Regions from separate parts of the Homo sapiens genome. Here regions 2, 3, 4, 5 and 6 are each linked to region 1. Evidence: promoter capture Hi-C in 16 types of primary human blood cells and fetal thymus (Javierre and others, 2016). All regions are on one chromosome and are shown on one strand. Each heading gives the region's core, a stretch centred on a gene start or on the middle of the fragment in contact. The rest is flanking DNA. Distances are from core to core; before and after follow the strand shown. Region 1 holds the start of KLF12 (KLF transcription factor 12). Region 2 overlaps KLF12 (KLF transcription factor 12). Region 3 overlaps KLF12 (KLF transcription factor 12). Region 4 overlaps KLF12 (KLF transcription factor 12). Region 5 overlaps KLF12 (KLF transcription factor 12). Region 6 overlaps KLF12 (KLF transcription factor 12).

Region 1 (3,884 bases), core at 890-3,389:
AGAACTGCCACGATGACATAATTTCTTACAGCATCCTTCCACCCTTACAGTGAAACTCCCTTCCTTCACTCCCTGCCCCACCTAGAGGGAAACTTCACAGTGATTCTAGTAGAGGCAAGTTTCTCGTTGAAATCCTGCGCAGTTGTTGATATTCTGCTGCTTTTCAAACTTGTGTTTTCACGTCGTTTCCATCCGGGTGTAGTGGAGTGTAAGGGGCTGTTTACCCTAGGCCCAGGATCGGATCAGGGAGTGGGAGTTGCGGCTGCATTCCCCGGAACAGAGACCGCACCGCAGCAACCACCAACCCCTCACCCCCGAGTCCCACTGGGTTCCCGACGCCCTCGCTGCGCCCGCGCCTTCCCGCTCCCGCCGCTGAGGCTACTTCACTCGAGCAGTGCTCCACAAATTTCAGACATTTCTTCCTCTTCGAAACCTCAAGACCAGGACAGACCCCTCCTCTGAATCCTGCTGCCTTCCTAAGACGCATCTTAGGCTGTGGGACCCCTCCTCTAGGTTGGACCACCCATCCCATTTTCCCCAGAACCTAGGAGTGGCAAGAGGCAGAGAACGCACCAGGCAGACGCCGCCTTTGTTGTCATTAGGAACGCACACCGCGCCTGAAGTGGCTGGAAACCGCCACACCGATGGGGAGCCCAGCTGGCCCTGGCTCACATTCGTGCCTTCGTTCTCATTTCCTGTTTCTCGGCCTCTCCCTTGTTTCTCTTCCCACCCCACTCCACGCCACAGTACAGCAAAGCTTTCTCTCTGCACACAAACTTCCCCTTCCCGGCCTTCCCACAGCCCTGGCGATTTCCCACGCGGGGCGGGCCGGGCCGGGGGCGCGGGGCAGGGGAATACTGTCGTGCCCGGAGCGCCGCGCTCACCTAGGATGGTGAGGAGGCGGGCCCACAGCCTCCCGCCTCCGTCCGCCGCGCGCCCCGCCCGCCCGGCCGCTTCCGCCCCGTCTGCTCCCCGCCCCCGCCGACCCTCCGGCTCGGCGCTGACCCCGCGCCCTCCGAGCCGCCGCGGGAACTGCAGGGCCGCCCGGCCGCCTCCTCCCTCTCCCGCCCCACAATCCCGCGGATCCGCTCCCCGGGGCGCGGAGGCGGGGAGGGAGGGGCTGCCGGGGAGAGCGTCAAGGACTCGGCTCCGGGCCGTCCGCTTCTTGGGGCTCCGCTCTGGGCGTGGGGCAGTGGAGCTGGACTCCCTTCCCCGCCGCCCCCGGGCCCCGCGGGGGTCTGCAGATCCCGCTTCCTCTGCCCCAGTCCTCCAAGTTTGCGTGCTTTCCCACAGAACTGGCGCAGGCAGGGGCCCCTTCGCTGGGGTGGCGAGGCCAGGCGCGCATCTCCGCCTCGCCCCCATTCATCCCGCCAAGGTGAAGCGCAGGGAAAAGGGGCGCCCCCGCTTCGCCCGCAACGTGCGTCGCTCCGGAACCCAAACAATGACTCCCCTGCCTGCCGCGCCCGGCCCTCCGCCCGCCCCACCGGCGCGCGGGGGGCACCGCCCGCGGGGCTGCCCCTGCCTGACCCCATTGTTGCCCGGCGCGGGCGATGCCCGGCGCCCAGGGGCGGTCCCCGCGAGCTGCCCCACAGTCCCGGCCGGCTCCGCCCACACCTTTCCAAGTTCGCTGGCGGGCGAGCCGCGGGGACGACCCGGGCGACAGCCCCCTCCCTCCACTGCGCGCCCCCACCCGGGCGGGTGCGGCGAGGGGTGGGGGCCCAAGCGGGCTGCACGCTTTTTGGGTCCCCGAATTCTCCTAAGCCTGTCTGGCGCGCTCTGACACAAAAGAGGAGACTTTCTCGCGGCTCGGCGCGAGTCCTTGCCCAGCGAGTTGCTCTCCAGGGGTCCCTCCCGCCGCAAGCCCCCGCGGGCCCCCTCGGCCGACGACTCCCCGAGCTCCCAGGGCCATGTGTGGGTTATTTGGGGTGCCGCAGCAAAGTGGTGCAGGTGAAAGGGAAGCGCTGCCGAGGCCCGGGGCCGGAGGGCGGGGGCAGGGGTGGGGCGGGGTGGGGCGGGGTGGAGGCGCCGCGGACCCAGCCCGGCGGTCCGGGCGGGGAGGCGAGGGCCGGGCAGTGGGTGTTGCCTTCTACCTCTGCGAGCGGGGAGGGGTTAGTTTCCCACAGGGGATTTCAACCATCACACTCAGAGCCCGCCTCCTAATCCTCGGGCGGAGCGGCTCGGGGGCCCCATTTTATGGCAATAAAGCGACTTAGCGCCTGCTGAGCGAGCCCCTCCCCGCCGCCGCCCCCGCCCTCGGCCCCACCCCGGGGCTCGCCGGCAGCGGCGGGGCTTTGTTTCTGGGGAGGAGGACCCGGAGCTCTTTTGTTTGGGGGTTTCTTGTTTTCGGCCCCCCCCCTCACAGCACCCCACCCCACCCCACCCCAAGCGCCTCTCCGGTTTCCTGAGCTGCGGGCTGCGAGGGAGGAGAAGCGGCGTCCTGCAACCCCCTCGGCTGGGCCCCGGGGTAATTCGATGCGGGCCTGGCGAGGCTCCCCACACTAGACCGGGGCTCGCAACTCGGCAGCCTCCACCCACCGGCCCACCCTACATTTAGCGCATCATGTGATCCGGGTAAGTCATTTGCAAGTACAACAGTTCCCCGGGTTGCCCCCCATTCATTTCCTGAGAACTGCAGAGAGCCGCTGAGAGGCTCTGCGTGTGCGTGTGCGCGGGTGACGCCGTGTGTGTGCGAGTGTGTGTGTGTGTGTGCGCGCGCGCGTGTGAGAGAGAGAAAGGGAGAGAGAGAGGGGGACTCTGTGTGAGGGAAAGAAAACAATTTCTCCTGCTCTGCAGCTTCTGTTCAGGTCTGTGCCGATTCCGTTTCTTATCAAAATAAACAACCCCCTCCTCTTTTTTTTTTTTTTTTGCCATCCCAAATCAGACCGTATTCTCTTAACGTGTTTTATTTTCCTTCTGTCATCTGCTCAAGTTAAATCATTTTGGTTGGTCTGTGTTCTTAAAGGGGGAAAGTGCTGGGAAGCGGGAGGGGGCCGGGGAAGGGCGATGCTGTTGCAAAGCAAGTAGCGTCGGTCGGATTCGTGGAGAAGAAAGAAGGAGGTTTCTTCCCCACCTCCCCTAATTTTTTTTTTCCAGAAGAAGTTATCAAGTAACGTGAATTAAGCAAGTGTTTTTCTACCCCTAGTGGAATTGTTGGTTGCAGTGTTTGCCTGACAGTTGCCAAGGATGTGAAATAAAACCCCAGGGCTGAACTTGGGGGGGAGGGGGGGCTCGTGGAAGTAGTTGGCCCCCCGGCCTCGAGCGGGGTGGATGAATAGCTCCGCACCGGGACCGTGTGGGCTGTGTGTGCGCGCTGGAGAGAGTGGAGGGGAAGGGGTTAAGGCGGAGATGACACTGCTGGCATGAATAGTGCTCCTGGTGCTACATTCATTATTGTCTCTGGTCGTAATGATGTGTAACTGTCACTTGCTACAGTGCCTGGTCCATGCAAGTAGCCAGGGGCTGGCCGGTGGCTGTTATTTTCAATTACGGGGGACCTGGCCGGAGTTGACAAGGGGCAACTTTGTACGTCCACCCGGGCCGGGAACCCGCAGAGCCGGCCTGGGAGCCACTTCTTGCCTCAGAAGCTCACTCTGAGGGTTCAGACTTGACCTCCGCGACATTAGTTGGTGTTCACGTTAGATGCTCCCCTACGGGGAGAATCAGTCCTGCTTTTGTTGGGTAGCGAGCTGTCTGCAAGAACTTTGAAAACTTTTATCTTTGGGGAAAAGGGTGGGGTGCACTCAACAGTTTTGTTTCGCAGTGCATTTGAGGCAAATGCTTGGAAAAAGTACCAATTCCTTTGTTATATGCCCTGCAGCTTCCCAACCCCCTTCACCCTGCGCTTCGAGTTTTGCATACTTTAATAGTAATAGTCTTATTTCAGC
Region 2 (3,884 bases), core at 1,385-3,884, 410 kb after region 1:
TGGTATACCTCTCTACTTTTCCAGTGTTAATTTCACAGAGTATTCAAAGAGTAAGGAAAATTTTCAGGAACAAAATCAAAAGCGGGTAAAATATTATCTGTCTCAGGTGGGAAGATTTTTCTTTTCCTCCAGAATTCAAATACCTGGACATCTTATGATGAGAAAAATCCCTACATGTGGCCTCAGACAGTCATTCTGGTAACACAGACTCAAGTGGAAAACTACCAATGAGTTCTACTTGGTCTGATTTATATAATCCTACCCAAGCAATAAAAACTTTCAATAATTCATGTTAACTTAAGTACTACATCAGGCCCCAGGTGTGATGTTCCCCTCCCTGTGTCTATGTGTTCTCATTGTTCAACTCCCACTTATGACTGAGAACATGCAGTGTTCAGTTTTCTGTTCCTGTGTTAGTTTGCTGAGAATGATGGTTTATAGCTTCACCCATGTCCCTGCAAAGGACATTAACTCATTTTTTTATGGCTGCATAGTATTCCATGGTGTATATGTGCCACATTTTCTTTTTCCAGTCTATCATTGGTGGGCATTTGGGTTGGTTCCAAGTCTCTGCTATTGTAAATAGAGCTGCAGTAAACATAACGTGTGCATGTGTCTTTATAGTAGAATGATTTATAATCCTTTGGGTATATACCCAGAAATGGTATTGCTGGGTCAAATGGTAGTTCTGGTTCTAGATCCTTGAGTAATCACCACACTGTCTTCCCCGATGGTTGAACTAATTTGCACTCCCACCAACAGTGTAGTGTTCCTATTTCTCCGCATCCTCTCCAGCATCTGTTTCCTGACTTTTTAATGATCGCCATTCCAACTGGCATGAGATGGTATCTAATTGTGGTTTTGATTTGCATTTCTCTAATGACCAGTGATGATGAGCTTTTTTTCATGTTTGTCGGTCACATAAATAGACATGTATAAGACTCTTCACTCTTGAGTAGCTTAAAGTTTAACTGTAGTCAAATAAGGATAACTTATTTTTAAAATTTAGCATGATTCTAGAGAGTCCCCAAATCAGATGTGTTCAAGAGCCACATGGATAAGATAAAGTGCTGTTCTCATAAAGCAATAGGGCATGGGTTGGGCCCATGCCAGAATGAGGAGGGCAGGGCTTACCCTTAAGGCATTCCGATTAAAATAATTAATCCTATTCTGACCTAGAAAGTTTTTTTTTTTAAGGTTTATGTAATCCACCAAGCTATCACTTCTGGCATAAAACATAATTTAAACCCCGGTATTTTCTGAAGAAATTCTGTGGGAAAATCCCTCTAAATATTTAAGTATGTTATGTGTCTTCCATTCAGTGGGTATGTCTAGTATAATCCAGAAATCCATACCTGTTTCAGAACCCTCGTTTCATCCTACATTATTAATTGATCTCATGGGATAAAGTCTTCGCAATGCATAGGACATTCCCCACAGAGTAGCTATTTTGAATAGATACTCTATATCTGAAATAGGCATTTTTTTGTTAGCCAACAATCCTCTTTCAACTTGTAGTCTAATTTCATCATAAAAGTTTGATAATATAGCCAACCAGAACAGACTGTTAATGATTCGTTTTTTTCTATTTTGATTCTCTTTAAACATTTTGCCTAATACAGCTTATGATCTTGCTTGCTGAAATATGTTGAAACAAAAAGAACAGAAAGCTTGTCATACTTTTAAGTTTTTTAACGGTCTAGAAAGTGATGTGGAAAAATACTTAGTGGCTGCTGTTATATTTAAGTAAAATCATGAAATACTGTGAATCCATCCCCAGGGCACCCCTTGGGCGCCCAAAAGGCTCATTTGTAAACCATTATCTTTTAATTAGTTTAGTAGGAAACTTTGTTTATTAAAGTAAAACAATAATTAAATATGCATTTTAGACGCATTCTGTTCATATGGAAAACTTGCCAAACGCTAGTTTGAATAGATGTTAAGATTGAGCTTTTTGACGCATTTTAGCAAACGTATTTCTCTTGATTTATACATTTTGTGAAAACGTTTTTATTGAATCCAAATTAGAACATGATATAATGTCTCAGTCACAGCTTCTGAAAAGGGTGGCAACTACTAATCTTACAATTTCAATCTGTTCAAAAGTAGTTTTCTGTGAAATGCTACAGACAGGAGTGAGAGAGGAACTTGATGCCTGTGAATCTGCTCCACCTCCGAATGTAGCTGCTGGGGATTTGGTAGTAAATGTATCTAAACACTGCTTTTTCCCTAATTAATATCATAGGAGAGACATTGACATGGTTTGACAGGCACTAGAGTCTGTTGTAGTATGGAAGATAAATATGAAGATTCCTGCCTCTGAGAGCCATCTGCTGGTTAAGGGAAAGCCTACAAAGAAATGCAGATATCTGGCTTGTTCATGTGAATAGAATCTGTCTTACTGAGATTTATGTAAATCCTGATTAACTGAAAGTCTCATCCACTCTTGCTCTGCTTGTGGTCTTGATGATTCATTCCCAGGGTGGTGTTTGATTCACTAACAAAGAAGTCATTCTACCTACAGGTATTCTGTGGCAGAAGTTAATTCAGAATTCTGTAGGTGATGTTCAATGTCTTATTTTAAATAATATGAAACCTTAGAAACAGTACAAAATATACTTTGTAAACTGAATGCTCCCACTTCCCTTAAGGTAATTCTATCGTGCAACCAACTCAATTCTTTTTGGTACAATTGTAAATAAAGTGGAATGTCAGGGAAGGGACTAATTTTGTGGCATTAATGGTCAAGGAAGACATTAGCATATACCACTGCCAAACTCAGCCTTTAAAAAACATTTCCCTTGGAAATACATAGTTTATAACAACTTTAAGAAAATATGTACTGGGTAGGCATAGTGTCTCATACCTATAATCCCAACACTGGGACGCCGAAGTGGGAGGATCACTTGAGGCCAGGAGTTCAAGACAGGCTAGGACAACACAGCAAGACCCTTTCTCTACCAAAAAAAAAAAAAATTAACTAGGCATGGTGGCATGCACCTGTAGTCCTAGTTCCCAGGAGGCTGAGGCGGAAGGATTGTTTGAGTCCAGGAGTTTGAGGCTCCGGTGAGCTATGATTCTACCACTGCACTGCAGCTTGGGCAACAGAATGAGTTCTTGTCTCTTTTTAAAAACAAGATGAAAGGAGAGAAAAGAAAATACTTTCTTTGGTAGATTAATAGTAAGTGTACTGAATGCCCATCTGACAGTACTTACAGAACGGTTTACCTTTTTAAAATTCTCCAGAGAAAAGTATATGTCTTATCGTTGCAGGCTATATTCAATAACACTTATGTGTGCTGTTGTTTTATATAATTGGGTTAAAGGGGAAATTTAAATGCTATAGATATTTTGTTGCTTTTTCCCCTTCTATCATATGTTGGTTTGTAATACCTGTATCTTCATCTGAATAAGCATAACATTGTAATTAAAATTGAGTTCTGGAATCAACCACTCAGGTCTGAGTTTTAGTGTAGCCGCAGACTTTGTCTTGGCCTTGGCCTTAACCTCTCTGTGCCTCAGTTTCCTCATCTGTAAAAGAGGGATACAGTGTACAGGGATAGTAGTGTCAATCTCAGAGGGTTGCTCTGAAGCTTAAGGCATTTAGGTCGGTGCCTGACACCCACTAAGCATTCTGTAAATATCATTGTTATCCTCAGCTGTGGCCCTTGGAATTCTGTTGTGATTGCGTGTGTGAATTTACTAAAGCTCCTTCAATTCCAGTGTTTTCTGCTCTGGTTTTTAAATCTGGGATGTGTATGTCTTCTTTCCAGGCTTGAAAGATTGTCCTGGCCTTTTTAATTTTTTTTTAACTCCTGTAAAAACTCCAGTTTCAGTGAAGGACATCTCATCATGCTAAGGTCACACATGACGAGTGGTCTTTT
Region 3 (3,884 bases), core at 376-2,875, 390 kb after region 1:
AAATGAAGACATCTCTTCCACTATCCTCATCTATTGGTAGGAAAACTGAAGCCCGGAGTTTGAATGATTTTGTCCAAATTTGCACAGGAGCTAGGATTAGAACTTAGAACTTCTGCCGCCTGACTTTGGTGGTTCCCTTTCCACATTTTGATGGCTGTTTCCCATTCCTTAGTCAATATTTTCAGAAAAGTAGAAATACTCAAATTCAGAGGATAGCAAGACATATTTTCACATTACAGACATCTTTAAACATTGGTTACATCATTTCTGCCCTTTCTCTGTTTATCGTTGTTATGCCTGACAAAATGTTTGAAGAATAATGGTGACTACTGACCTGAATTTCAGAAGCTAAGATTTTAGACCTGTTCTGTCACTCTCTAATTATGTGATCTGGGGCAAGATTGAGTCCCTTATGCCTGATCTTGCCTGTTTCTTTCCACAGGGATTATGTGAAAATAAATGGAGATGAGTATGTAGGAAAGAGCTTTATGTCACAGAAGGCAGGATGCTACAAAATACCTCTGCAGTATTGTCACTGTTCACTTTTCTTTTAAATATAACCACTTTTATTCATGCTTTAGAAAGAAAAAACCAACTTTCATAAGTTTCCTTTCTCTTCTTCTTTCGACAATCCATATAGTATTATAAAAGATTGGGATTCTAATTCTTACCTCCACCTGATTTTTACGTTTTTGGCCTTCCCTCTGATCCACTTGATCCTGAATTTAATTATCAGGCTTACATTAACACCCTGTCTCTTTGCTTGCTCTGCCTAGCAGTTCTTCATGGCTGAGTGAAAAGAGCTTGATTAGTAAAAGCTTACCCTTTTATATTTCCTTGCAATTAGTCCAATAAAAAAGCATCACCCCCTGGATGGGCTTTGTGTGGCTATTTTTTTAAAAATCTTTTTCCTTTGGCTGTGCTAATTTGTTGGCTTTTTGTCTCTTGTGTATGTTAATGAATTTGAAGATCAGTCTTTTAGTTTTAATTGTCACACCTTTGAAGACACAAACACCTTCAAACATTAAAACTCTGGAAATAGGATTTAGAATGAGATTTAAATGCAGGCTCTGTTGTTTAATGGGATTAATGCATACGACATTTTCATATGAACAAAGAATAAATATCTTTTTTTCTTTTTAATCTCTTAGCTGAATCAGCAGGTACTGAATTTTAAGTGGCATTGTGCAAAGTGTCAATCCATGTTGGTATAAAGAGGTAAACCATTTATCTTTCTGAGGGCTGAGAAGCTGGGCCTCCCCTAGGATTGTAGCAAGCTGAGGGCCCGTGGTCTTAGAACACACACTGAAAAGGGCCTTCTAATGATAAAAAACTGAACATAGGTACTCTATAGGAAATGACCATCAAAGTAAATCGAGTGTTAATTGGCCACAGAGGGAGATGTGGCCTCTGAAGTACTGAATGTATAGGCTTTTATTCTCTAGTAACTTTTCCAAGGCCTTTAAAACTGACATGGGGTGAATAAATATAAAGAACAGGAGTCCAAACAACTCAATGGAAAGAGCACAGCTTTGGAATCAAAGGATGCAGATTCAAATTCTACCTGCTGTTGGCTTTTGGCGTTAAGCAAATCATCAAACTCTTCACTATCATTTCCTCTGTGGTAATATACAACAAAAATATATCTCCCAGAGCTCCACATATTAAAATTTAAATGTATTTGGCATAACTTGGCCTGCCATTAAAAAAATACCATAGATTGTGTGGCTAAAACCACAGGACTATTTCTCACAGTTCTGGAGGCTGGGAAGTCCAACAGCAAGCCATCTGGTGATTCAGTTCCCGGGGAAGGCTTTCTTGCTGGCTAGCAGAGTGCACCTTTTCTCTATGTCCTCAAAAAGTGGAGAGAGAAGAGAACTTTGATCTTTCTTCCTCTTCTTATAAAAGTACACTAATCCCATCCTAAGGGCCCCACCACCCTCATGACCTGATCTAAATAATCCCCAAAGGCCCCATCTCCAGATACCATTGCATTGAGGATTATGGCTTCAACGTGTGAATTTTGGGGGACACAGACATTCAGTCCATAACTGTTAATTCAGATTAAAGGTCTGGACAGACAAGGATCATATATAATATTATTTTTATTAAAATACCAACTTCTGATATCAGCTCCCTTAAAACTTAAACATCACTTCAGTCCGACTTTGTCTTCTGTGTGACAAAGGAATCTGATATGGGATTACAAATGGGCCCTGGAATCAGTAATTTGCTCCCAGGTGTGCCTGGTTATATTGGTGGTAAATAATTCATCCTCTGGTGATAGAGGCGAGTCTCCAAAGTGATTCTCCACAAATTCATCGTTTTCAACACTTCCCTCCAGTGGAAACAATGAAGTCAGTTTTCACCAGAAATGGACATTGTACTTTGTTAGAACCACCTTTCAATGATATTTTACATTCTTAAGCTTTTCACAGTTTTCACACAGTTCATAGATACCATTTTATTTATTTCTCAGACCCATTCTGTGACATGTCTTGAAAAACAGTTTTATTTTAATCTTTAAAATGAAAAGAGAAAGAATAGAGTAGGGATCAATAAATCAGACTGCCTATTTTCATATTTCAGTTACTATATATTAACTCTGTAACTTCGAGCAAGTTATTTTATATCTCTGAGTCTCTGGTTCCTAATCTGTAAAATGGGGCTTGCTAATAATACCTGTTTCATGGTTATCATGAGGATTAAATGCACTATATTACATATAAAGCTCAAAGGACAGTATTTACCAAACGCAATAAATAAGTGTTGACTATTATTACAAGGGGATGCAAGACTCATTTATGTACAGCCATGACTAATACATAGCTAACATTAATTATGTAATCTACTAGCTAAAATGTACTTTGACCCTTTAATAGATAATACAATTTGAGAGCTAGGTTAACTCAATTCCCCAATATGATATAACTAAGCTAACCTTGACATATCTACTGCGTCCTTCTCATTCAGTCCTTTTCCTTTACCTACCCTTTAAATGTTCATGTTCTTCAAAGTTTCATTTCCTTTTGCATATTCTCCCTTGATAACAGCCTTCTCCGTAGCTAAAACACTCACCTCTTTGCTGATGGCAGCCTGGGTTCTTCATTCCTCCTCTGGATCCCTGCCATGTCTTTTTGTCATGGCCCTCAATTGTGTGCATGTAAGGAAGTATGTGTGCCTCTCTTAGACTATAAGTCTCCAGCACCTACCATAAGGTCTGGCCCATAGTAGACACTCAGTAAATATTTGAAGGAAGAAAGAAAGAAAATGCCAGGAGTAGTGGCTCATACCTGTAATCCCAATACTTTAGGAGGCTGAGGCAGGTGGATCACTTGAGGTCAGGAGTTCGAGACCAGCCTGACCAACATGGTGAAATCCCATCTCTACTAAAAATACAAAAAAATTAGCCAGGTGTGGTGGTACACACCTGTAATCTCAGCTAATTGGGAGACTGAGGCAGGAGAATCACCTGAACCAGGGAGGCAGAGGTTGCAGTGAGCCAAGATTGTGCCATTGCACTCCAGCCTGGGCGACAGAGCAAGAGACTCCATCTCAAAAAAAAAAAAAAAAAAAAGGAGGGAGGGAGGGGCATGGCTTTAAACTGAAATATGCTAATTCTTCTAGTTTCAACTCCATAATTAAATCACTCTTAATTTTTTTAGAAAGATACACAAAATTTAAATAAAATAGAATGTTTTAAGACTCTTATCAAACTTCACTCAATTAAAATAATGAGCTAATTGAAAGTCTGACATATTTTGAGCACCTACTAGGTGCCAGGCAGTATAGTAATGCTCAGAATTAATATAAAGGTATCTAAAAGGAGCTCTGTCTTTGGAAGAATATAAAGGTATCTAAAGGAGAATATAACGGCATATGTA
Region 4 (3,884 bases), core at 439-2,938, 360 kb after region 1:
GAAGTTGTAGTTTAGTAGGAAAATCAGGCCAATAATACAACAGCTATTTATTGAGTGCCTACTTTAGTACCAGGTACTGGAGATATGACAGTAAGCAAAAAGAGAAAAGTTCCCTTGTCCCCTGGAATATGCTGTCTAGTTGGAGAGACAGGTTACATAAACTAAACATACTAACAAATATAATCTTGAGTTAACCCATGCTAAGTACCCCGTGCCATGAGAACTAAGAGCAAGTTCACCAAGACCTGGAGGTTAGGGAGGGCATCTTACAGTTGAGCATCAGCTAATCACCTTAGCAGGGAGAGAGGAGAACATCTAGTGTCACTGCCCCAGAGAGAGCAAGTGGGGATGGTGGGAGATAGGGCCAGGATTAATTAATACATTATAATTGCACACCAAATGCTCTTTTTAGAATTCCTCATTCTGTTGGTGTATATCAGAAATTAATGTTTCCTTCAAAATGTAATATTTTTAGCACAGTTTAACTTCTCTCTTTCAGTGTCTATGACATTAGAATAAGAGTTATAGTAAGCAGTTAAAAAAAATTTCACATATTGGCTGGGCATGGTGGTTCACGCCTGTAATCCCAGCACTTTGGGAGGCTGAGGCAGGAGGATCATTTGAGTTCAGGAGTTGGAGACCATCCTGGCCAACATGGTGAAACGCCATCTCTACTAAAAATACAAAAATTAGCCATTACAGGTGGCGCATGCCTGTAATCCCAGCTACTCAGGAGGCTGAGGCAGGAGAATTGCTTGAGCCAGGGAGGCAGAGGTTTCAGTGAGCCAAGATGGCACCACTGCACTCCAGCCTGGGTGACAGAGGAAGACTCCATCTCAAAAAAAAAAAAAAAGTTCACATATTAATTGTATATAATATTTAAGTTCAGCCCACTTTTCTAAAAGTAACATAAATGGCTTTTCATGAGAGAAATTTTAGTATAAAGGCAGATGGAGAACCTTTTAAAAATATATGGCATTTCTAATAGTCATTTAATCACTGGCCTGAGGAAAACCTGAGAATAAAATAGGCCCACTGAATTTAAACACTGGTCACACTCATATTTTTATTTGGTCATGGGTAGTGTGTTTATATTAAAATAACATCTAGAGTAACCTAAATCATCAGGAGAACTTGTATTCAGTACAACCGAGTGTAAGAAGAAAGCAATACCAAGAATTATTTTTAAATTATCTTTTATATAATTCTGCATAGGAAAATTCTGATATTTAGTAATTGTGGAGTTATTTTAGGTTAATCTTTTCTTCAGCAAATGTAGTAAACTGAGTTGTTAAAGTATGTATTATGTTTAATGCTTTGCACAATGTATAGATAATCATTTAATCATTAACCTAATTAAAATATAGGTTAATGATTATATAACCTAAATGGTTTTAGAAAAAGAACGTATTTGTACATAATAATTTCTTATAATCTTGGTATAAAATATCTAGTCTTGCTAGATGAGTAATGTCCTACAAGAAAGATTTCATTGGTCTGTGGAATAATCATTTATTCTCATTCTTCTCAGTATGAAACAGCCTCTCTAATTTATGGGGTGTGAGCACAAGTGGACTCACATGTTATTCTAAGGGTTTTTGGCCTGAGCAACTGAGTGAATAATTCCAACATTTTTGAAATTGAGAAGATACCAGAAGGAACATCTTTTTTTTTGTTTGTTTCTTTCAGAGAAAGGTTGATATTAAGAAACCTGGGTCTGGTTTTCAGAGAAGATCTAAGGCTGGAGGTAGACATTTGGGAGTCGTGATGATGTGGATGGGAAGGTCATGATGGTAGCTCAGTTGGAGCCTCTTTTAGCTACAGAGTGAGTTTAAATAGTGGAGAGGAAAGGTTATAGGACAGTGACAACTAGCCCATGCCAACATTTAGAGTTTGAAAGAATGAGAGGAGGAGGTTCAAGCAAAGGAGAAAGAAAGGAGGAAAGCCAGAAGAATGTCTTGGCTGCTGAGTAAAGAAGCTGTTCAAGAATGGAGTGATAATTTATGTCAGTTGCTGCTGAGAAGTTGAGGACTAAGAATTCACCATTAGATTTGAAAACATGGAGACTATTGATGGCTGTGATGAGGGCAGTTTCATCAGAGCGGTGTGGATACCAACTACATTGGATTCTAGAGAAAATGGAATGTGAGGAAGCATGGCTATAGCTAGAATTAATTTCTGCCCTCTAAAATTTACATGTGTTGTACATTATGTATTTAAATAGCAATGCTAATATAACAAGGAACATTCATAAACAATTAAAGAGATAAAGTATATTATTATGACTGTGCTTCTTATAAGTACCCACATGCTTCATATTTAGTCCAAGAAAACCATTACTTCCACTTTATATCTACTTATATTATAAAATGTTCAATTGGGCTTAAATACATGGAAAATTTCCTATTTAAGACCCTGGTGCTAATTCATCTTATTACATCCTCTGGGCTGGGTGGAGGGAATATATATAAGTATCAGATGATAATCTTATATCATCCATGATGTAAGACAGGTCAGACAGGTCAGACGTACCTGTGTTTAAATCCTGACTTTTCTCTTTACTACCTACGTGACCCCAGCAAGTTACCTAATCTTCTAAGCCTATTTTCTCAAAGATAAAATGTGGACAGTAATGACATGAGGATAAATTAAGATAATATGTCTTAATTATTTAGCATGATACCAAGCAAATAGTAAGGGCTCTGTAAATGGGTGCAAATTTGCATTGCCGTGATTACTGTCTTGTTCTTGAATGGGTCATAACTTAAATACTGTGCAGTTTAGTACACAGAAGATAGGTCTTCTAATAAAGAGCAGAAAAAAATGAGCTGCCTGAGAGTAAGCCATACCTTATAAGCCATAGTTTTTGGTTTGTATTATTCTGCCCATGTTTATTTCTTGGTTTGTTTTCTCGCCTTTAGTAAAGTTGTATAAGCACAGTAGGTAAGACTGCAGGCTCTGTAGAGCATATTTGTAATCTTAATCCCCTGGAATTACCTGGATAGTCCAGCTCTATCCTCTGACTTCCCATCCTTTCATGTCTAATCAGCACTGCTAGTGACAATAGCTAACATGTATTGACTGCTTCCTAAGTACTGAGCACCATTCTAAAGATTTTATAGCTGTTAACTGATTTAAACCTCGCAGCCCTAGGTAATAGGCCCCATTATTACCTCCATTTGCCCTGATGAGGAAACTGAGGCACAGAGAGGTTAAATAACTTGCCCAAAGATGACACCGTTGGTAAACGGTGAAGCTGGGATTCAGTCAGGCAGGCTGGTCACACAATTTTCACTCTTAACCACTTCATCCTAATTCCATTTGGGATGATAAGATTGCATTAAGTTATCACAGCTTTTCTGTGGTGCAGATAGTAAAGTGGGACCAGTATCCTTCCCCCAGCAATTCATGAGTGCTGATGATTTGTGTTGGGAATCAAGATGTTGCATCCCACCTCCAGTCACCAGGGGGTGCCACTCAGGTAGGTTTATGAAAACATTGAAAACCAGAGTGATGGTATTCTCTTGATTAACTATAAATGGCAGTCATTAAGATGCAAGGTTTTGAGAGTCAGGTTCTTTGGTGCTTATACCCAAAGAAGAAAGAGCCGTTTTTGTATTAAGTCATCTAAAAAGTTCTCATATGCTTAGCAAGAAAGCTAAATTAAGCTCTGCACTGGGTAAAATTATAAACATGCTCTCTGCTCCAGATGAGTAAGTGTATATAAATAGAACAGTTGGTACACATGGCCCTAATGGTATAGCTTCCCTGTTTTCTATGTAATGTAAATCACCAAATGTGAGCATTTCTACCTGACAAACTGTCAGTCTCAGAAGAGCACATTCAATACATGTTACACAACAACCAAGATTGCCCTTTTGTTC
Region 5 (3,884 bases), core at 811-3,310, 320 kb after region 1:
TAATTTGAATAGTCCAGGAGATGGTGAGAGATTTAGAAGGAGTGTTATAGAAGGGAATGAGTGAAGAAGCAGTAAATTTACTGTCAGGGTAAAATGGAATGATGATTGACTACTAAGAGCCAGGCCAGGACTAAGTGCTTTGCATGTATTATCTTCTTTACTCCTTAGAGCAGCAGTAGCAGGAGAAGAAACTGAAGATTCCCGGTGCAAAATCATTGCCCAAGGTCAGATGTTGCAAATGACAGGGCCAGAAGTCATCCCATGTTCCCTGAAGCCAGAGCCATGTTTTTATCCTAAAGAAGCTTCCTGACCCTCCTTTTCTGGAACAATTTCTGCATAGAATGTGTTGGAGGAGGATTCTTCTACCTACTGATACTATGAATTTTCCCAAACATTCCTCCCCAAACATTCATTTTTCCCTTTGTTCCTGCACTCCCCCTCTGCCCTCCTTTCTAGAATAAACCAGCAGCTCTCCTGGAAGCCGGGGTTTCTCTAACTGGGACATGTTTCAGCCTTGGCAGGGCGAACAATTAGGGCACCTGCAGATAGCAGGGAGCCTGTCCGTAGCTAAAAGAGGGAGAAAAGAGGTCCATCAGCCCTGTGGCGCCTGCCTGGGCAGCCACTTCACACCTTCCATCTGTGTATGGCCCTCTCCTCTCCAGCCCTGGCGCGTGGAGGTGAAGGGATTCAGTATCTGCTTCTGGGATTCATTCCTGTTAGGAAATGTTAGTCTGTAAGTTTTCATATATGTTCTTAGATTGTTGTGTCGTACACATTTAATATTGCAACCTATAGAAATAGAAGAATGTCCTTTTCCTTAAGAGTGGGTGCATAGGCAAGTTTACTTCAACAGAAGTTAGAAGAGTGTTTGGTCTTTAGACAGCAGGCAGGCTGGGGTGAGGGGAGGTGAGAATGAATTAGTGTCCCCTGCATCTGTGTCAGTCTACTATTACATGAGGGGAGGAAACAAGCAAAGTTTAAATGTCTCATGTGAGCTGAAGAGAAAAAACATGAAATATACCTTTGGGTGACCATACACCAGTGAGAACCCACCCATATGAGCATCCTATCAAGTCTCAGCTGAGGAGAAGAGCTGAAAAAGTGTTCGGCCGGCGCAGTGGCTGTCGCCTGTAATCCCAGCTACTTGGGAGGCCAAGGCAGGAGAATTACTTAAATCTGGGAGGCGGAGGTTGCAGTGAGCCGAGATCGCGCCATTGCGCTCCAGCCTAGGTGACAGAGTAAGACTCCATCTGAAAATAAATAAATAAAAATAAATAAGTGTTGTTCATCATAACTAAATGGCCCCTTAGGGCCCAAGAAGAACCTTAGCTGCACAATACTGAAGGATCAAAGAAGATACTGCAAAAGCCAAAACACCTGTAAATACATTTGAATATTTTGAATTGAAAAGTAAATGATGCAGAATGCAGTAGGTAGCTTTTATGTCACTAAAACAAGGTTGGTTCTTGGGAGGAGAATAAAGAAGAATGTTGTTAAAAGTAAACAAATCTAATTTTGCACATCTTAATTGGCTTTAATTTGATTCCAGAATCAGACAACAGTCTAGACCAAAAATGTTCAGAATGCTTCACCCTACGGCATATGCAGATTATATTTATAGCCAAAGAAAAGGAGGTGACATGCAGAAAATGGAAGTGAGGTACAGAGACAGCTCCGTTGGTTAAAATGCAGCATATGCCTTAATTGAATCTGGTTTCAACAGTTGGCCATCTTTGATTGACCGAAACTCAGCTACTTGTTGCAAGAGGAGGTTACGGTCTGTTTCCACGTCAAGTTAGGTTACAGTTCACTATGTACAGAAGAAACTTTAGGCCAAACTTAAAACATGTATAGAGGCAGCTTTAGGCCAAACTTAATTCAATTTAATATTGTTGTAGGCTGACTGTAATTGTAGTTGTAGTTCATCTCCATCATTGCTAGGAAATCTCTAGAAGGAGCTGGGAGAATAACCTGGTGCACTAACTTTTTATTGCTGCCCTACAACTAACCCTAAAATTTAGTGGAATAAAATAGCAAGTCTTGTCTTTTTCTTTCTTTTTTTTTTTTGTTTTTCTTTTTTTTCTTTTCTTTTTTTTTTGAAACAGGATCTCACTCTGTTGCTCAGGCCTGGAGTGCAGTGGTGTGATCGTAGCTCACTGCAGCCTCAACCTCCTGGGCTCAAGTGATCCTCCCACCTCAGCCTCCCAACTAGCTGGGACTACAGGCATATGCCACCACACTCTGCTGATGTTTTAAATTTCTTGTAGAGGTTGGGTCTCACTACGTTGTCTGGGCTGGTCTCAAACTCCTGGGCTCAAGCAGTCCTCCTGCCTCAGCCTCCTAAGGTGCTGGGATTACAGTGGTGTGAGCCACTGCACCCAGCCTAAAACAGCAGGTATTTTATTTGCTCAAATTCTGTGAGTCAGAAATGTGGCATGGGTTTAGCCAAGAGGTTTTCAAGCAGGTCTCACCTGGGGTCACTCATGGTGTAGTCATCTGGTGACTGTAATGTAGCTGGTGAGTCTAAAATGGCTCACTGACATGGCTCACAGTGGGATTGGCCGCCTGCTGAGCAGCATGTCTCCTATAGGCTCTCCCGGGCTTCTTCACAAGTTGACTAGGTTCTAAAAAGAGCAAGGGAAAAGGGGAAACCCAAGGTGCAAGTGCTTTTCAAGCCTCTACTTGTGTCACATTTGCTAATGTCCCATTGGTCACTTCAAGTCTTAGAGCCAAGCCCAGAGTCATTGTTGAGAAGTGGCCACATCAGGGCATGGATACAGACAGACATGATTTATTGGAGGGATCGTTATAGTAACAATCTACCATAGGAGAGTATTTGAAAATCAGAGTATATCAGTTCAACTTCAGGTGTTGGGTTCTGAAATTTTCTCCCCAGGATTTTGACACATGGAATGAAACTCACGTAGGATTCCAGAACACCTCCAACTCCGAGGAATGACACCTCTACCAGCAGTGAGCTGGGTTACCCAAAACTGTCTGATCCCTTTTTCATTAAAGAGCAATAAAATCTTAAGTGTAAATTTTTTTCAGGTGTTTATAGATCATCTCCTGTTCTCTTACTTACAGAGGCTGATATTTTTTTGTTTCTGGTGTCCAGATAACTTTCTTTGGTCTTTAAATGGGCATGCCAGAGAATCAGTCCTTCCTAAATGGGCTGAGATGCTCAAAGACTGATGGAGGTTAACTAGGGTTGATGTCCCTATTCTACATTTAATAAAAATAGAGTGGAATTATGCAAGTATGCAGATAAGCTAATCATCTGACCTAATCAGCAATGCAGATTTTGAAAAGCCTTTCTAATTACTTCCTCAGCTTGGCTGAAGGTATGGGTAAAAAGATTTTCCCAGCATGATGGTAGCAGATGTATTTCATAATATTTATTGAAAATATTGGAAAGAAATCCTCAATTATGCTCCTGAAAAGTACATCAAAAAGATATCATATTTAACATATTTTAAACTTTCATTAAGATACAAACATAACATAATTAGATGATCATGTAACAACTCTCACACAAGGTTTTGGAATCTTTCATACAATTAGACTTTAACTTTCAGAGCCAGATTGCTCATGGTTAACTGCCTCTATCTTCCTTGAGTTGTATTACTTACTATAAGAGCTCTAGTTGTCTTGGACAAAATGGTACTATCAGAATATTTTCTTTTTTCTTGGCTGTTTGCAAATTTGGTATCTTGGCAAAGGCATCGTAGTGCATGATGTTTCAACAACTTTAAATGTTAAATTTTTGACATTTACAGGTGTATGCAACACCATACAATATGTGATTTGGAAGCTTAGATAGATCTGATATTCATTTTCTTGGCTGGCTTTGAATAGTTGTGAATGGCTGTTAAATGAATCAT
Region 6 (3,884 bases), core at 881-3,380, 270 kb after region 1:
CTCAGTGTAAATGTTCATGTGTTTTACTGCAGAGATATTAATGTGTTGGAGTATCCAGTTCCACCCCAAGCCCTCCTGGCGGGGTGCTATTACCTTCTAAAAAACCTACCAAAAGTTTGAATTCCTGAATATGTATGGCCCCAGAAGTTTAAAACTAGAAAACTGTGCATCTCTAGTATTTGCCTGTCTGCACCAGATGAACATATTCTAATATTTGACCCTACAGTATACTATGTAATTTATTGAATAATCAAAGATGGCATCATTTTATGGGAGGCAGGAATAATACAAACTATCGGATATTCTAGTTTTAGCACTACAGTAAAATAGATAAAATAATAACTGAAACAAAAAATAACAACCACAACTAATTTTAACTATTTTGTGTCAAGCAGTGTGCATTTAATAATTGGATTTTTAGAACTCCCTTAATATGTAGGGAGTGCTAATATTAGCACTGTTGTAAGTAAATAACTGAAGTTTAGAAGGATAAGAAATTTGCTTATGGTCACGGAACAAGAGCAGAACCAGTACACAAACCTGTCTGTTGGAATCCACAGCCCATGCCGTAACACCTCTACAATACTGCTATAATATAATCTCTAATTTATCACATAAGACTCTTAATAAATATGAAATTTAGTTTTACTATCCCCATGACTTCTTGTCAGTTATTCACAGGAAAATTGCTAATAGCAAATCAGCTTCCTTTCTTGATCCAGCATGTTTCTGAGATCCTCCCTCAGTTGGCATGTGTTTAAGAAATACAAATGAATTTTAATATGAGTCTAATAAATATAATTATGGTGGTAAATCTGCTGGAATCATATAATGAATTTTAAACCCAACATAAATGCCTTTTTGGATTATCTGTCACTTGGGATTACTTGTACTGTGATCCTGTCTATGAGTAGATAATTGAATGTTGGCTATCTTAACTGTGACTGAAAGTTCTGATGCTAAGAAGAAAATGAATCATATAATGTGAGTTTGCTAATTTACTTAATAATTAATTTGGGATTTTATCACAGGAATTATTTAAAACCAAAAACACAGAGTAACTTTATCTCATGGGAACCAGAATTCTGTTTGGATCAAAGAAGTGATTAATGTGCCTGACTCTTTTCTTTTTCTTATTTATTCAGTAATAAATAATTGAATAACGTACAGTTGTTGTTTTCTTAGAGATTTTATAAGGAAAACCAATAAAGGAAAAAATAATTCTGCTAAGATATGTTGTTGAAATCTGTGAAAGTTTTTACTTAACCTTTTGACTCTTTTTTCTTCACGAAACATAGTCGTCTTAAAATTGCACAAAATAAGAGACAAATGTTTTATAGAATTGATTACAGTGATTTCAGTCTTTCCTGATCTGCTGTGGGCATACATTAAAGATTCAGATGTGGGAGTTAGTATTGCATTAATAGTTGAGGCCATGGATTTTATTGCCAGAGATCACTAAAGATTGTATCTTGACATTGTCACTTAATGCCTTAGAACCACTGGCACATTTCTTAACCTCTCCACGTCTGTTTCCTATCTGTAAAATGTGATTCATGATAGTTTTTTATATTGAGATGTTGTGAGGAATAAACAATACACTGTAATGTATGTGCAGCAGGTTTATAATTTTTAGACATGTCTTTTCCCCTTTACATGTTGTAAAACTAATTCAAGTTTGGGGCCTAGATTTAGCTAACAGTAGCATCACATGGGCTGATGTCTGGAATCCTTACTGGAAAGACAGATGCTTAGTGAATTTAGAGATCACAACTGCATTTATGTGTTAAGGTTTTTAACTTAACCTCAATACCCTTTGATTTTTCAAAAAAAAAAAAAAAACCCAACTATATCTGCACTCTTCTGTTTGTACACTTAAGCAAATCTATGAAAACTATTCAATTAATACTTATAATATGAAGGGCTAGGAACACGTAGACACACACATTTGTATATATAGGTAATAAACACTTCAAGTTAATTTTTCTACATATTCTGTCACACACACTCCTTGCATGACTTTTAAGTGCACTACATGCTAAGATGTCACAAGAATACACACATGCCCATCAGCATTCATACCAGTACCTAAGCCGTATTCACATACCCACGGAGGTGCATGTATATATGTTTGGACTCTGTAGATATATTTACATGATTAACACATATGGAAGAGTTAGAGAAGGAAAAATGAGGAAAACGGAATAATTCCACAAATTAAAAAAAAGTAATATATAAGATGTTAGGGGAAAAAGTAGGAAAAAGATGATAGCTTAATCCAGGGTTTCTTTAAACTTCGACACTCTTGGTCTTTTGTCTTTGTCATGGGAACTGTCTTGTCACTGCTTCAATCAAAAATGTCTTCAGATGTTGCTCAGTGTCCCCTGGGGGACACATTACCTGCCATTAATAACTACTCCTTTAGTGTAAATAAGAATGCCAAATAAGAATGCCAATGCAGAAGTTCTAGAAGAATGGAATTAACATGAAGGAGCAGAGCAAGATAAGCCAAAGGGAGGAGAAAGGCAGTTGTAGAGTTCACTGCGCAGGAAGCAGCAGCAGAGTTTGTGGGTTGCTGGTACAGGTAATCCCCACACTGAAAGGATCAGAGTTAGCAGGGGTTTTTTATTGTGGAATGGAAAATTAACAAGAATGGGGTACATGCATTTATCATTGTATCTAGTTACAGGATTTATAACCTTCATGCCATGTATTACACCCCGATTGACAGAAAAAAATGCAGAATCCTAACTAACTTTGAAAAACTTGATAGACATGAAGACTAAGTTTTGGAACCAGAAAGAGTGTTATTTTTTAACTTCCTATTACTGTGACATATTGAGAGATGCTAATTATAAATTTTCTAGTTATAAAAAATGTATTTCAAATTAGCAAAAATACAAAATATGACTCATACATTTGATTTTTAGCCCCTTGGAAGTGTGTCTTTCATCTCTTCTTGTAAAAATCATCTTGTAATACATGGAAACTAGTCACTTAAAGTTCTGTAGTGGGAGGAATTAAATATCAATTGATAAATTTAAATTCTTTAACAAAAGAATGAGGCACTGGAAACTTTCAACTTTCATTTTTATATGTTATAATAAGTTAATATATTTACCGTTTAAGTTTTAGTCACGGGGTAATTAATTCATAGATTTTTTTTCACTCTGTCGCCCAGGCTGGAATGCAGTGATGCAATCATAGCTCAGTGCAGCCTCGATTTTCTGGGCTCAAGTGATCCTTCTTCCTCAGTCTTTGGCATGGCTAAGACTACAGGTGTGCACCACCACACCCAGCTTATTTATTTTTATTTTTTATTTTTAGTAGAGACAAGGTCTCTCTGTGTTGCCCAGGCTGGTCTCAAACTCCTGAGCTCGAGCAACCCTTCGGTCTCGGCCTCCTAAAGTGCTGTGATTACAAGCGTGAGCCACTGCATGTGGCCCGTAGATATATTCAATCTGAGACCCAGTAAGGCCTTTGGGGAGCAACTGGAGCTTTACTAATGAGCTTTAATTAAGTGCTTACTTTGTACTGGGGACTGTGATAGGTGCTTGTCTACAAAAGAACAAGATAAAAATGATATCTTTGGTGGGCCCATGGCCGCCTCGTAAGAGAAAGAAGCACAAAGTTCAGAGTGCTTTGGAAGCACAGAAGAGTGGCATCTAATTTAGAACAGGTGGAATCTGGTACAGCTGGAGGAGATAACAGACACCTGAACTGTGCAAAAGCATGATCAACATCATCTTCAATCAGAAACTGAAGAGAGACAATGAGTGAACTGATCATATAAAACGCAACCCAGACCGGAACTCAGGCATGTATCCTTTTCACAAAACCACACTGCATTTCTTCTCACTTATTGTCCTATTTGCAAAAGTTCC

The links. The method cuts DNA at HindIII sites, captures the fragments that hold promoters and counts their contacts. A CHiCAGO score of 5 or more calls a contact.
Region 2: a contact is called between a fragment that was not itself captured here and the fragment with the promoter of KLF12 in region 1, in 1 of 17 cell types (activated CD4 T cells). The highest score is 5.2, in activated CD4 T cells.
Region 3: a fragment that was not itself captured here is called in contact with the fragment with the promoter of KLF12 in region 1 in 1 of 17 cell types (non-activated CD4 T cells); the score reaches 7.5 in non-activated CD4 T cells.
Region 4: a fragment that was not itself captured here is called in contact with the fragment with the promoter of KLF12 in region 1 in 2 of 17 cell types (non-activated CD4 T cells and total CD4 T cells); the score reaches 8.0 in non-activated CD4 T cells.
Region 5: a fragment that was not itself captured here is called in contact with the fragment with the promoter of KLF12 in region 1 in 1 of 17 cell types (non-activated CD4 T cells); the score reaches 5.1 in non-activated CD4 T cells.
Region 6: a contact is called between a fragment that was not itself captured here and the fragment with the promoter of KLF12 in region 1, in 1 of 17 cell types (non-activated CD4 T cells). The highest score is 7.5, in non-activated CD4 T cells.

Annotation. Positions count from the first base shown.
Region 1 is chr13:74,132,659-74,136,542 of GRCh38, reverse strand. It overlaps KLF12 (KLF transcription factor 12), which reads left to right and starts at 2,139. Exons shown (of 8, transcript NM_001400136.1): 1 at 2,139-2,571. RefSeq lists a silencer at 643-2,392 and enhancers at 3,402-3,451, 3,482-3,661. The HindIII fragment of the contact is 3,671 bases long and covers 760-3,884 here.
Region 2 is chr13:73,720,811-73,724,694 of GRCh38, reverse strand. All of the region lies in intron 6 of KLF12 (KLF transcription factor 12), which reads left to right. Among named protein-coding and RNA genes, the nearest start is that of LINC00393, 61 kb to the right of the region's middle. The HindIII fragment of the contact is 1,923 bases long and covers 1,673-3,595 here.
Region 3 is chr13:73,746,504-73,750,387 of GRCh38, reverse strand. The region is part of intron 6 of KLF12 (KLF transcription factor 12); the gene reads left to right. Among named protein-coding and RNA genes, the nearest start is that of LINC00393, 87 kb to the right of the region's middle. The HindIII fragment of the contact is 1,610 bases long and covers 821-2,430 here.
Region 4 is chr13:73,767,495-73,771,378 of GRCh38, reverse strand. The region is part of intron 5 of KLF12 (KLF transcription factor 12); the gene reads left to right. Among named protein-coding and RNA genes, the nearest start is that of LINC00393, 110 kb to the right of the region's middle. RefSeq lists an enhancer at 3,259-3,884. The HindIII fragment of the contact is 4,662 bases long and covers 1-3,884 here.
Region 5 is chr13:73,815,533-73,819,416 of GRCh38, reverse strand. All of the region lies in intron 4 of KLF12 (KLF transcription factor 12), which reads left to right. Among named protein-coding and RNA genes, the nearest start is that of LINC00393, 160 kb to the right of the region's middle. The HindIII fragment of the contact is 3,512 bases long and covers 305-3,816 here.
Region 6 is chr13:73,860,014-73,863,897 of GRCh38, reverse strand. All of the region lies in intron 3 of KLF12 (KLF transcription factor 12), which reads left to right. Among named protein-coding and RNA genes, the nearest start is that of LINC00393, 200 kb to the right of the region's middle. The HindIII fragment of the contact is 6,362 bases long and covers 1-3,884 here.